2 separate regions of the Homo sapiens genome follow, and region 2 is linked to region 1. The links are contacts of gene promoters, found by promoter capture Hi-C in blood cells and fetal thymus (Javierre and others, 2016). All regions are on one chromosome and are shown on one strand. The core of a region is centred on a gene start or on the middle of the fragment in contact, and the rest is flanking DNA. Distances in the headings are between cores, read along the strand shown. Region 1 holds the start of FGB (fibrinogen beta chain). Region 2 has its middle 34 kb from the start of MAP9-AS1.

Evidence for each region. The method cuts DNA at HindIII sites, captures the fragments that hold promoters and counts their contacts. A CHiCAGO score of 5 or more calls a contact.
Region 2: a fragment that was not itself captured here is called in contact with the fragment with the promoter of FGB in region 1 in 1 of 17 cell types (activated CD4 T cells); the score reaches 5.3 in activated CD4 T cells.

What each region holds. Positions count from the first base shown.
Region 1 is chr4:154,559,562-154,565,138 of GRCh38, reverse strand. FGB (fibrinogen beta chain) reads right to left here and starts at 2,128. Exons shown (of 8, transcript NM_005141.5): 1 at 2,007-2,128. The coding sequence starts at 2,120. The HindIII fragment of the contact is 2,847 bases long and covers 1-2,278 here.
Region 2 is chr4:155,317,317-155,322,893 of GRCh38, reverse strand. No RefSeq gene overlaps it. Among named protein-coding and RNA genes, the nearest start is that of MAP9-AS1, 34 kb to the left of the region's middle. The HindIII fragment of the contact is 370 bases long and covers 3,207-3,576 here.

The sequences.
Region 1 (5,577 bases), core at 879-3,378:
TGTAAGGATTAAATAACTTATTGCATATGGTACCCTCAGAACAGTACTTGGCAATAATAAGTGCTCATTACTATTTTTACTGGAATCACACATAACAAGTACTACAGTTTAAGTGTCCTCTCCACTTCGAATTTCACTTTTAGTCTTATCTTCTATCAACAAAATTATTTGTTAAACCATTATCTTGAAATTTCTTACATGATTTCTTTATCAAACATTATGATTTTCTTATATTTAAAATAATTCTCAAGGCTTGTGCATTGTAATTAAAATTACTTGCTAACTTAAAATATTATATTAAAGGATAATGAAGCAGAAAATACGCATTGCAATAGGAAAGTTTTGATTTGGATTAACTACATTCTCATTTTTTTTTTTGTCAGTAGCTATACATCCTTTGGAGCTTAATTACAAATTAACAAACGACATGATTTGGAACAACTGAGCAACAACTGAGCTCTCTTGCAATTTTGTGAGTCTAGAAGTCATCAGATGAACTCTATTTGGAATTGCATTGTCATTTATTCATTAGATTATAATATTATTTAACATTTAGTAGGATGGTGCTAAGATTAAAACCCAGCCAGGCTGGTTCCAGATTTTCCTGTTTAACCAGTTGACTATATACATTCTTAATATGTAAAGATTCGGAGGATATATACATATTTCACATTGAAGTCATGGTCCTAGTCAGAGCTTACCCTCTCTAAAACAAATTTTAAGAAATGTGATTCATCTGCTTATTACAAATACAATTATAACAGAGAAAACTATTTTCTTTTTATTTCAGAGTGCCACTAGAGAGGTAGCATGGATGGTCTGGCTTTACTAGAGAAAAGGAAATTTTAAAAAATATTTAAAGAAAGTATATACTTAAAGAAAAACACTTAAAGAAATTATGAAGGCCACTTGTTGAATAATCAAAATCCATTTTAAAGCCTAAACTATTAAACTATCTCTGTGAGGTTTAGTTGATAAGCAGAAATGTGAAAGTGCTTTGCAGAGTACTTTACAAAAATTTCGTCTTACACATTCTTTACATTTTTCTTACCTAATATGATTAACCAGACTTAACCAGATTAACCATATGTTTTTACACACACAACCAGATTAACTATATGTTCTTACATGTAGAGTCTGATAAGTACAACACTCAAGTTCCCTTGAAACTCAATAATGATCCGAAATGAATCACTTCATTTAAATATTATTGTGTATTCTTATTTCTAGTTTAATGATACTATGCTATATGTAAGAAATTTGGCCATGATACGTTTGATGATAAAATTTAAATTTCTTAAATATCCATTGTCCTAAATGCATTTCTGTATTTTTAGTAACTGCAAATTAACAGCAATAAGTCAGCAAAAATAATAGTTGAGGACAAACTGTTCTACAAATAAATAAATTAGACTGAACCGTGTTTCATAACTATTAATAATAACAATACACACTAACTCTAATTTGAACTTTTCATCTGAAAAAAGCAATATTTCATTTTCTATCATTACACTTGATGTATTTTGCTTTTAGGCTTAGTTATAATTTTTATAAATAGTAATCTCAGTAACAATATATATTACCTTCCTTCACCAAAGAACAATCTACCTACCACCAGTTTCTTTTATCTTAAAATTCTGCTCTTTTATTATTTTATAGTTTGTGAGATTTTCAGATCTTGTCCTCTTAATTGTAATCCTGTATTGCTAGAAGTAAATGAAAATCACAGTACTCAGAATAGCAAGTGAGAAAAACACATCTTACATTAGCTAAGCCATCCTCATCTTAAGAAAACAAAGGTGATAAACTAGAAAACAAGAAATTACTTTGTTTTTATATAAGAAATACTATGAAACATTCTTTAAATACAATAAGTCAGAGGTTAACAATTCCATTTCATAACTATAAGCAATGCTAATTTCATTAAAATAAGCACATAATATGATTATGTTACATCTTATATTAATAATACTACTAATAATATAATAATGCTTTAAAAAATTCACCTCCTCATTGTCGTTGACACCTTGGGACTTAACTAGAAAAACACACAATAGTAGCAATAATAGATGTTTCATGGTTTTAAGTTTGTGGAAGCTCCAAGAAACCATCCTTTTCATGTAGACTTAACTGAGAGATCTTCAATCCTATATATATCTGAGTCCTCTGCTAGGAATGACTTCAGAAATGGTTACCTTTCCTTAGTTAATATTTAATTTTTGGTTCACTTGTTGGCTGAACCATTTTATCATTTAAGCAACATCTTCCCAGCAAAGCTTATTTACTTGTCATACAACTATTATTCTTTGTTGGTCTAGTTTAGAAACATTAAATTTCTTCAATTCATTTAATTGGACAAAATGATGGGAAGTTAGGGCACTCCTCAAAGAGAGATGTGTATCTTGTTTCTGGTAAATTAATGTGGAAACTACACAAGCTCCGAAAGAATATGTGAGAAAACAAATCTAAGCTTAGTAAATTTGACCTACTCACAAGGCAACCACTAAAATCGTGACTCATTAATGATATACCATAAATGCTTATGTTTTCTGACAATGACATAATTCTATTTCAAAAGGGGCCATTAAAATCAATAGTAATGTTATATCATAATGTGTTTATCTTTTGTTTTAGACATTAATCAAAATAACAAAATAACAAATTCATACCCTATTCTATGAAAAATACACATCAGAAAGACCCTTTTTTTGTGCTGAATAGCTTTAATATTTTGTCCTTAATTCACATAAGGTAAAATGTTCAACAAATTCTAAACATTATTAAGATAACTAATAAATTATAGATTTCTGAATCAAAATTATGATGATGATTAAATACATGTTTAACATTCTATTTTATTGTTATATAGTTTATATCATATGATTTATAAAAACAATGTTATTTTAACACTGGTGAAGTCTTCATACATCTATTTCAATTAGTATGCTCACAGACTAAATGAGGCCCATTTTCCTTCATTTCCCACAAGCCACAAAATTTATCTCTCTTGTCTGTTCACTTGTGTGTTGCAATCAGGATTAATAACTCCTACAAGAATCAATAGGAACACCAGTCAGTAATCCAAATCCCAGTAAGTGCATTGATTCAAAGCATTTTTCTGTTTTTTGTATGGAAAGTGAAACATTCTCATTAAATTTATAAATTATTTTATTAAAAAGATGGCAGGTTATCAGGGTTTGGATCAGCGTATTGAAACAATGCTTTGAAACAGAGTCTTGAGAATGGTGTGGGACCCACGACATTTCTTTCTTCTCCAGGTAGCAGAGATTGCATTCCCAAATTCTTTTAACTCAGATTCCTAGAAACAAATTATTCTCTTGGTAGCATAGGTTGTCCTCCCAAATTCTTTTAACTTAGCTTAATAGAGACAAAGTACTCAGTTTAAATTAAGAAAAAATATTCACTTGAGTCTTTCCAAATTTGTGTTCCCTTTATTAGCAATGAGTAAATATTATATTTTAAGATTTTTTTCTTTAGCTTTAATGGTTTTTAAAGGGATACATGATCTGACAGAAAAAGCAAATATCTATGTGGCTATTAATTAAAATATATACAGGAATATTTTCCATGAAAATATAACTGATAACAAAGTTTATTTTAATAATCTAGACAGGATTTTATTTTAGTGACGTACAGATTCTTACAGATTTAAAAAGAATTATCTGTTAAGAAAACTCTAACCTTTTTTTTTTCTTTTGAGGTAACGTATTACTACATTTTCAATGACTGATGTTTGATCAACTAACAATAGAATCATCATTTAACTTTCAGAAGTCTGTAAATTTGTAAAGTTTTTTCTAGTATATAATAGACTCTTGTTCAACACTAAAGTGAAGGTTCCTTTACTTTCCTACTTTGTTCTACTCTGATTGGCATTCTTCCCATGGTCAGAAGGAGGATGGATTCAATCCAGCATGCATGCACCATAACAGCACAGACTTAACATTCATCTTACAAATAGTTCTTGAGAGTCTCCTCAGTGACGGGTAGTGTGATAGGGGCTGGGAATGCATTGGTGAGCAAGACAGACATAGTAGGCGTTCAATACATAATTACGGGATGAATGAGTGAACTGGCTGTCATTGGTACATGCCTCAGATGCCAAATTATGGTAGTCATTTATCGTATTTAATTCTTGAAACCACTATGTTCTACAGATGGTGAAACAGGTTCAGAGAGGTTAAGTAAACTACCCCAGAGTGTATAGGTAGTAGGTGCTGGTATGAGGACTTGACCCCTGACTGTCTGACTCTACAGTCCACACTCTGTGCCCATTACATTATATTTCCCAACAGGATACAAACATTATAAAAATTTACCTCTACCTTCTTTTTGTGTGTTTGTTCTTTTGGAGTATTTTGGCCAGCCTGTCATCTTGGGACCATAATGTATCAGGCTGACACACTCACTCATAGCTTTTACTTTCACTTATCTTTTTACCCTCATATGTGGGTATAGTATTCATGTCTGTGTGAAGCATGTGCAATGCAGTGATAATGAGTTTTTGTAATTCTAGTTCTTGTTAGATATGTCTTTTTTCTGTAGAGTTATGTACAGTTACACTGGGACTCTAAATTGCCTAATATTACAAAGAATATTATCATGTTTTCAGGGAAGAAATATATTTGCAGAGACACCGCTTATTAAGATGCTTAAATTTTTTTAGAATGTTGATGCCATTGGTGGAGGGGAAAGGGAGTACTATTTGTTCAGTTATTTTGAGGTCATCAGTGCAGTGTTCTTCATATTAGCTGATGTCATTGCATAAGTCAAGGGTAGTAAATCAGTGACAGAGAAAACAGAGATAATCTGTCCTGCCCAGCAGCTCTCTGGCTTGAAGGGCAAAGACTTGCCGATACCCATTGTCAATACACTTGTTGATACTTTTACAACTCATGTCAGGCCCAGTCTCCATAGCACAAGGCAATTTGTGCTTAACAACTATTTACAGAGCATCTACTTCATAGCAGGTAGTTTGCTGGGGGCCGGGGAGACCTTGGCGAAGCCTTAAGTCTAAAAGGAAAGACAGAAAATGAAAACTACTTACAATAATTAGTGTTGAGCCTAAGATTGGGGGAGGTGAGGCTTTGGGACTGGTAACTTAAGGATCTAACTTTCTTCAGGGGGAAACGAACTTCAAAGGAAAAGGGCTTTTAGACTTGAAACTTGGTTTGAATGACTGTACAGTTTATGTCATGCACCTGGCACATAGCCAGTATTTAATAAATATCGGTTGAGCAAATTCATGAATATATAAATGAACGAATGACTAAAAGGAATACTGATTCTCGTTGTCTAAATATGCATAGGTTTTGAGGTACTGTAATAAGTTGTTAGTCTCTGTATATATTTTCCTTGTGTTACCTTGATTAACACTGACGAGTTGGAGGCCAGGCTGGACCAGAGCTCTTGGGGCAAGCCTGAGAGCAGTGCAGTGGTGACACCTGCAATTTGTTGGTCATCTTTAGTGGGAAAGCATATGGTGGGGAAGAAATAGGAGATGACGCCATCTCTTGTGGAATGTCTCCCTCTACTGGCTTAGATGTCAGTTTCCAT
Region 2 (5,577 bases), core at 2,142-4,641, 760 kb before region 1:
CATTTCATCTGTGCTGCAGTCATGAGGGAAACAATTATTTTACTTTTCAGATGCACTCTGTCAAGAATTTGAAGGGTGAGAGGATAGTGAGGCTAAAAGCAGAGCTTTCCTTGCCTCCTACAGACTGTGATATCTGCATCCAGTCAGAGGAGCAAAGGTACCCTTCACCACAACAGAATCTGTTCTCTAGAATGGCCATCTTTTCATGTCCTCCCACGAGGGACACAGCCACAGAATGTCTGTGCAAGGAAAAATCAAATCAGGTAGGAATCCATCCATTCAGGAGAAAACAGAATAAGTTTTTAATCTATAGAAGTTAACATCTGGTTAGGTTTTAGCAGACTATTATTAATAAAATCATTCAGGAATTATTTGTTGTCATTTTCAAATTTTTAAAGGTACATTGCACCATTTCACCATTTAGTCAAATACTTTTTGAGTTTCAGAGCTAACTAAGAAATACTTAAGAAGTTTATGACCAGACAGACTCTGGAGACACCCAGGGAAACTTATTGTTATCAGGATATGATATAGGAATTTGAATGTTTAACTCTCATCCCTGAGTGACTTTTTTAGTAGTTCTGGAGTTTGACAATGATTGTACTGTGTAGCCTTTTACGGTCCATCTCCTTGTGAAATTGTGTGATTCAATCATGTCAACCAACCATTCCTGAAAGAACCCAGAGGCCACCCTCTCAAATACACAGCACTGATACTGATCGTTAAATATCTCCTGAGTTAGAGAGTTTCACACTTTCCCTCTAACTGGTGCCATAATGGAGAATCTTGTGTAGCAGGGCTACACTGAGGTGCCCTAAGGATCTCACATCTTTCTACTCCCATTCGAGCAGGGATAAGCCAATGACAAGTAAGGCTCAAAGCCTCAGTAGGCTCATAGCTGCAGCAGAACAGAGCATCCGAAATATAGCAGCCACAGCACTATCTCCATGAGTACATCTTGGATGTTCCTATGTCTATACAAGTGCCTGGGTTTTCATTTTTCAAACCCCATTCCTCTATAGAAGATGTAGTCTGAATTTTCTGAAATATTCAGAATAAATTCTAGGGTAAAAAGGTGGGAGACAGAAGTACAATGATGCATGACCAGTTTTTCAAAGGGATACACCAACTATTATTCCCCAAGAAAAGAATTAGAAACTGCCAGCTGGGCAAGGTGGCTCACGCTTATAGTTCCAGCACTTTGGGAAGCCTAGGCGGGTGGATCACTTGAGCTCAGGAGTTTGAGACCAGCCTGGCCAACTTGGTGAAACCCCATCTCCACTAAAAATACAAAAATTAGCCAGGTGTGGTGGCGGGCGCCTGTAATCCCAGTTACTCAGGAGGCTGAGGCAGGAGAATTGCTTGAACCTCGGAGGTGGAGGTTGCAGTCAGCTGAGATTGCGCCATTGCATTCCAGCCTAGGTGTCAAGAGAGAAACTCTGTCTTAAAAAAAAAAAAAAAAAAAGGAATTAGAATCAGCCTTGTGGGCATAAGTCAGCCCCAGAGAGAAGAGAGATGAACTGTGAAGTAATATGAAAGGAACAGTTACTTCTGCCTTTTAAATTATAATTCTTTAATCAGAAAAAAAACCTCTTAAGCAAACAAGGTAAAATAGCTAATATTCCACAGAGTAATTGAAATTTGCCCTGTGGTACTCTCCATTTTCTGCAATATTCTTATCTCTAAAGAGAACAAGATGGATGGAGCCTATAAAGCCACAAAGGAAAAGAATAAGCTGGTAAAATAGTTCCTCCTAATGTTGAAATAAAAATGACTAATTGATATCATTTAGCCTTTTCCCAAGTGATCTATTATGAAAAGAACATTTGAATAGAGAACTCAGTAATAATTATTGAACCCCATGAGAAACCCTACATTAGACCAGAATAATATTTCTTATGTTTCATTGCGATATCATTAAAAATGCCTATGTTTTCCATGAACAAATAAAAGTCATAATATTTAGGTTTTATTCCCCTATCCCCAAAAATAAAACTTGATTGGTAGTAGCATGTAATAATGGAAACAAAAATTTCAAAGAACACATCTTTGGAATTAAAATAACCTGGGTTTACATCTCAGTTCTCCTGCTTAATAGCTACGTGGCTTGAATAAAAATCTTTAAGCCTCAGTCTTCTTATGTTTGAAATGTAGCTTTGTAAAATTTTTTTGACAAAAAAAGGATAATAAGAATAGTATAATGGCATAGAGGTGCCCTGCTGGAGATTACATTTGCTATTAGGCAGTTGCTCTTCCGGATTTAGCCAGTGAGAGGGCTCCTAAAAAGTCTGCTTGATTACCCAAGTGGGGACATTACTTTTTAAAGTGCTGAAGTGTCTTTTCTGTCTTTTAGAGATTGCATAAATAATGCTATTATCCAGAAAATGGAATACATGAACACTGTATATTTAGGCTTATTAGGCAAATATGCCAGATTTGGAAGGGGTAGGAGGGAGCTGAAGTGCCTTGGGATGTTTTCTTTAAGGAGAACGAGAAGATAGCCATGTTATCTAAGAGACGGTTATAACAAGGTCTTGGGTTAGATGGTATAGAAACTTGGGGTGGGAGAAGACGGTCAGGGTGGTCAATAGTAGCCTATTTGCTTATGCTAATGGTCCGAAAATAATGTGCATTGAATATAATGGCTGAAAAGCCCTGGGATCAGGGGATAAATCAGGAGAACCAATCTGGCAGTGTGTATTCTAGTAAAGACCAAGTCAGTAGTAATGTTTTTGTCTTCAGGAAATATTTCCCCTTAATATCAACTAGCTTCTCCATAAATCAGGAACTGGGAGCTTAAAACCTCTATTCTAGATAGAAACTAGGACAAAGTCACATAACCACATAAAATAGAAACTCCCCCACCGCAACATCTGTATCCTGCTTGATAGGACATTCACTACATATTTTTGTCTCTCTCCTGACCAAGATGATCTTAATGATTTCTTTAGCTTGACTAAACTTTAGACAGATTTCTTCTTGACTGTTGATGTCCCATCTTCCTTTTCTTCAAGCATTTACAGTAGAAAATTTGCTGTTGTAAATTCTTTCTCTGCCCTTTTGAAATGTAAATCTTCTCCCAGCCTTTTATCAGTTTGACAATCCAGGAATGTCTTTCTTAAGTACCTGGGATTCATTCCTTTGCAGTGCAATCATCAAGAAAAATTGCATCCCTATCTTCCAGTCTCTGGGGTAAGGTAGAAGCTTAACTTCCATAAGTGCCAAATTAGCAACACAAATGATCTGACCACATAGACACCTTAAGTTCCTCCAATACTTTTCTACTTGTTCATCCCCATAAGAAAAACACTCCAGGGTTCTGTGTTACGGGAGTTGAGTTCATTTTCTCTCTCTCTTTCTCTCTCTCTCTCTTCTATTGCAATAGTCTTGAATAAAGTCTTCCTTCCCTGCTTAATATGTCTGGTGTAATGTTTCTTTGACACTCCAGAGGAATGTAAGCTCTGTGAGGTGAGTGATCAGCCTGTTTTGTCATTGTTGTGTCTCTATCACCAATGCACTCACTCGTTATTTATTGGATCCATAAATCATGTCTTCTCGAGTCAATTGGACCAAGCTTTGAATCCTGCCTTTTATTAGCTATGTGGCTTTGAACAACTTGCTAATTCTCTAATTTTCAGTTTAGCTCAGTAAAATGGGGAAAAAGAAAAGCAATCTAATATCATGAATTTGCTACAAAGATTATACAGTGTATTAATATACATAAAGCATTCGCAATAAGTGAAACCTTTTGTAATTATTGTTATTGTTTTATCTGGTGAACTTAAGAGTGTTATATGTGGGCATTTTAAAAGGCCATGCTTTCATAAAAACAAAAATGAGGAATAGAGAAAGTCCAGGAAAAATGAAAAGGACAGAGTAGCTGATAAAAAAATCCAAAAATTGAGAGGGAGAAGGTAGGTAGGCTTCAGGAAAAAAACTAAATAGTATGTGATACAACAGGCTAAGTGGAATTCTACAGTTTTATTATGCCTGTTTCTCAGGTAGAATAAGACAGTGTGCCTCCATACCAATTGTTACCATGGGTTAGCTCTGTAGCTCATTGAAAGGTGTGGCAACATTCCCAGAAGGATGGCCTTCTTAGGCTGTGCCTTCTGGGTGGTCCAGTAATGCTTTTTACAGGGTCATCTGTCTGGAACTCATCACAAGAGTGAGCAACACCCAGTCTAACCCACCCCTATATTCCTCTGAGACTTGGTTCCTGAACTATCACGGAAATAATAATATCTCCTATAATAAAGACAGAAGGGGCCAGGCACGGTGGCTCACGCCTGTAATCCCAGCACTTTGGGAGGACAAGGCAGGTGGATCAGGAGGTCAGGAGATCGAGACCACCCTGGCTAACAAGGTGAAGCCTCGTCTGTACTAAAAAATACAAAAATTAGCCAGGCGTGGTGGTGGGCACCTGTAGTCCCAGCTACTCGGGAGGCTGAGACAGGAGAATGGCGTGAACCCAGGAGGCAGAGCTTGCAGTGAGCCAAGACTGTGTCACTGCACTCCAGCCTGGGCAACAGAGCAAGACTCCGTCTCAAAAAAAAAAAGAAAGAAAGAAAGAAGGCATATTTAATGCATGTTCAAACAGTAAAATACAGTGTTGCAGCCAAGGGAAATATTTAATGGCATTAGAAAGAAGAACACTTTTATCAGGAAAGAATGCAACTAGGAGGCCAGTTTTAGTTCAGCCTTATTATGGAAATCTGTCCTTCCCACTGTGGAAGCGTGGCAGAGAGACATACAAGTTATGACCAGAGAGATTTAGGCATTTAAAAAGAAAGGAGCACATGGGTGACTTTACACAGAAGTAAATTATCCCTGAGGCCATAATAGCAGAGGGCTATTGAAAAAGAGGGAAACCCCTAAAGAACCAAATTATATAAATCTATGTAGGCAGGACAAGCAGTGAAAAGGGTTCTAGAAAGGTATGAAGATATAACATACGAGCTGTGAATGGAAATATGGAAAATTTCTGCCACTGATTCTGTGCTAGGGATATGAAATGTTATATTTTGAGACTCCATAAAATGGAATTTGTGAACAAAATGGTGAAAGCCTAATAAGATACAAACTTGACCATGGCAGAAATGTCCTGTAGACAAATTTAGCTCAGGATCTATCACTCATTTCTAGTGATTCTCTATACATGTGTGTTTGGGGAGAGAGGGGCAAGGAGTGAAGAGGGAAAGTCGGACATTAATACCAAAAAGATACTGTATGGTAGTCATGAATTTTGTATATATTTTCCTCTTCAACCTATAGTATAGTAAATTACACGTGGTTTCATTCATTTGTGTAGTTTCACTCATTTTTAGTTTTTTATTTCATTTCCTTTACCCAAGGAAATGAAGCTCCCAGAGATTTACATAAGTTAATATCCAGACCAAGTAGATGCCAGATGCCCATTTCAGCCAAGATGATGATGCCCAGAGAATTACCTTTTAGAGCCCCCCACCCACTGCTTGTACTAAGCTTATTTCTCATTTATCCTAAATTTTCAGACTCTCCTTAAACTTTATTATAGAAGAAAGTAAAAGTCATGGAATTACAGCCACAACTGTTCCC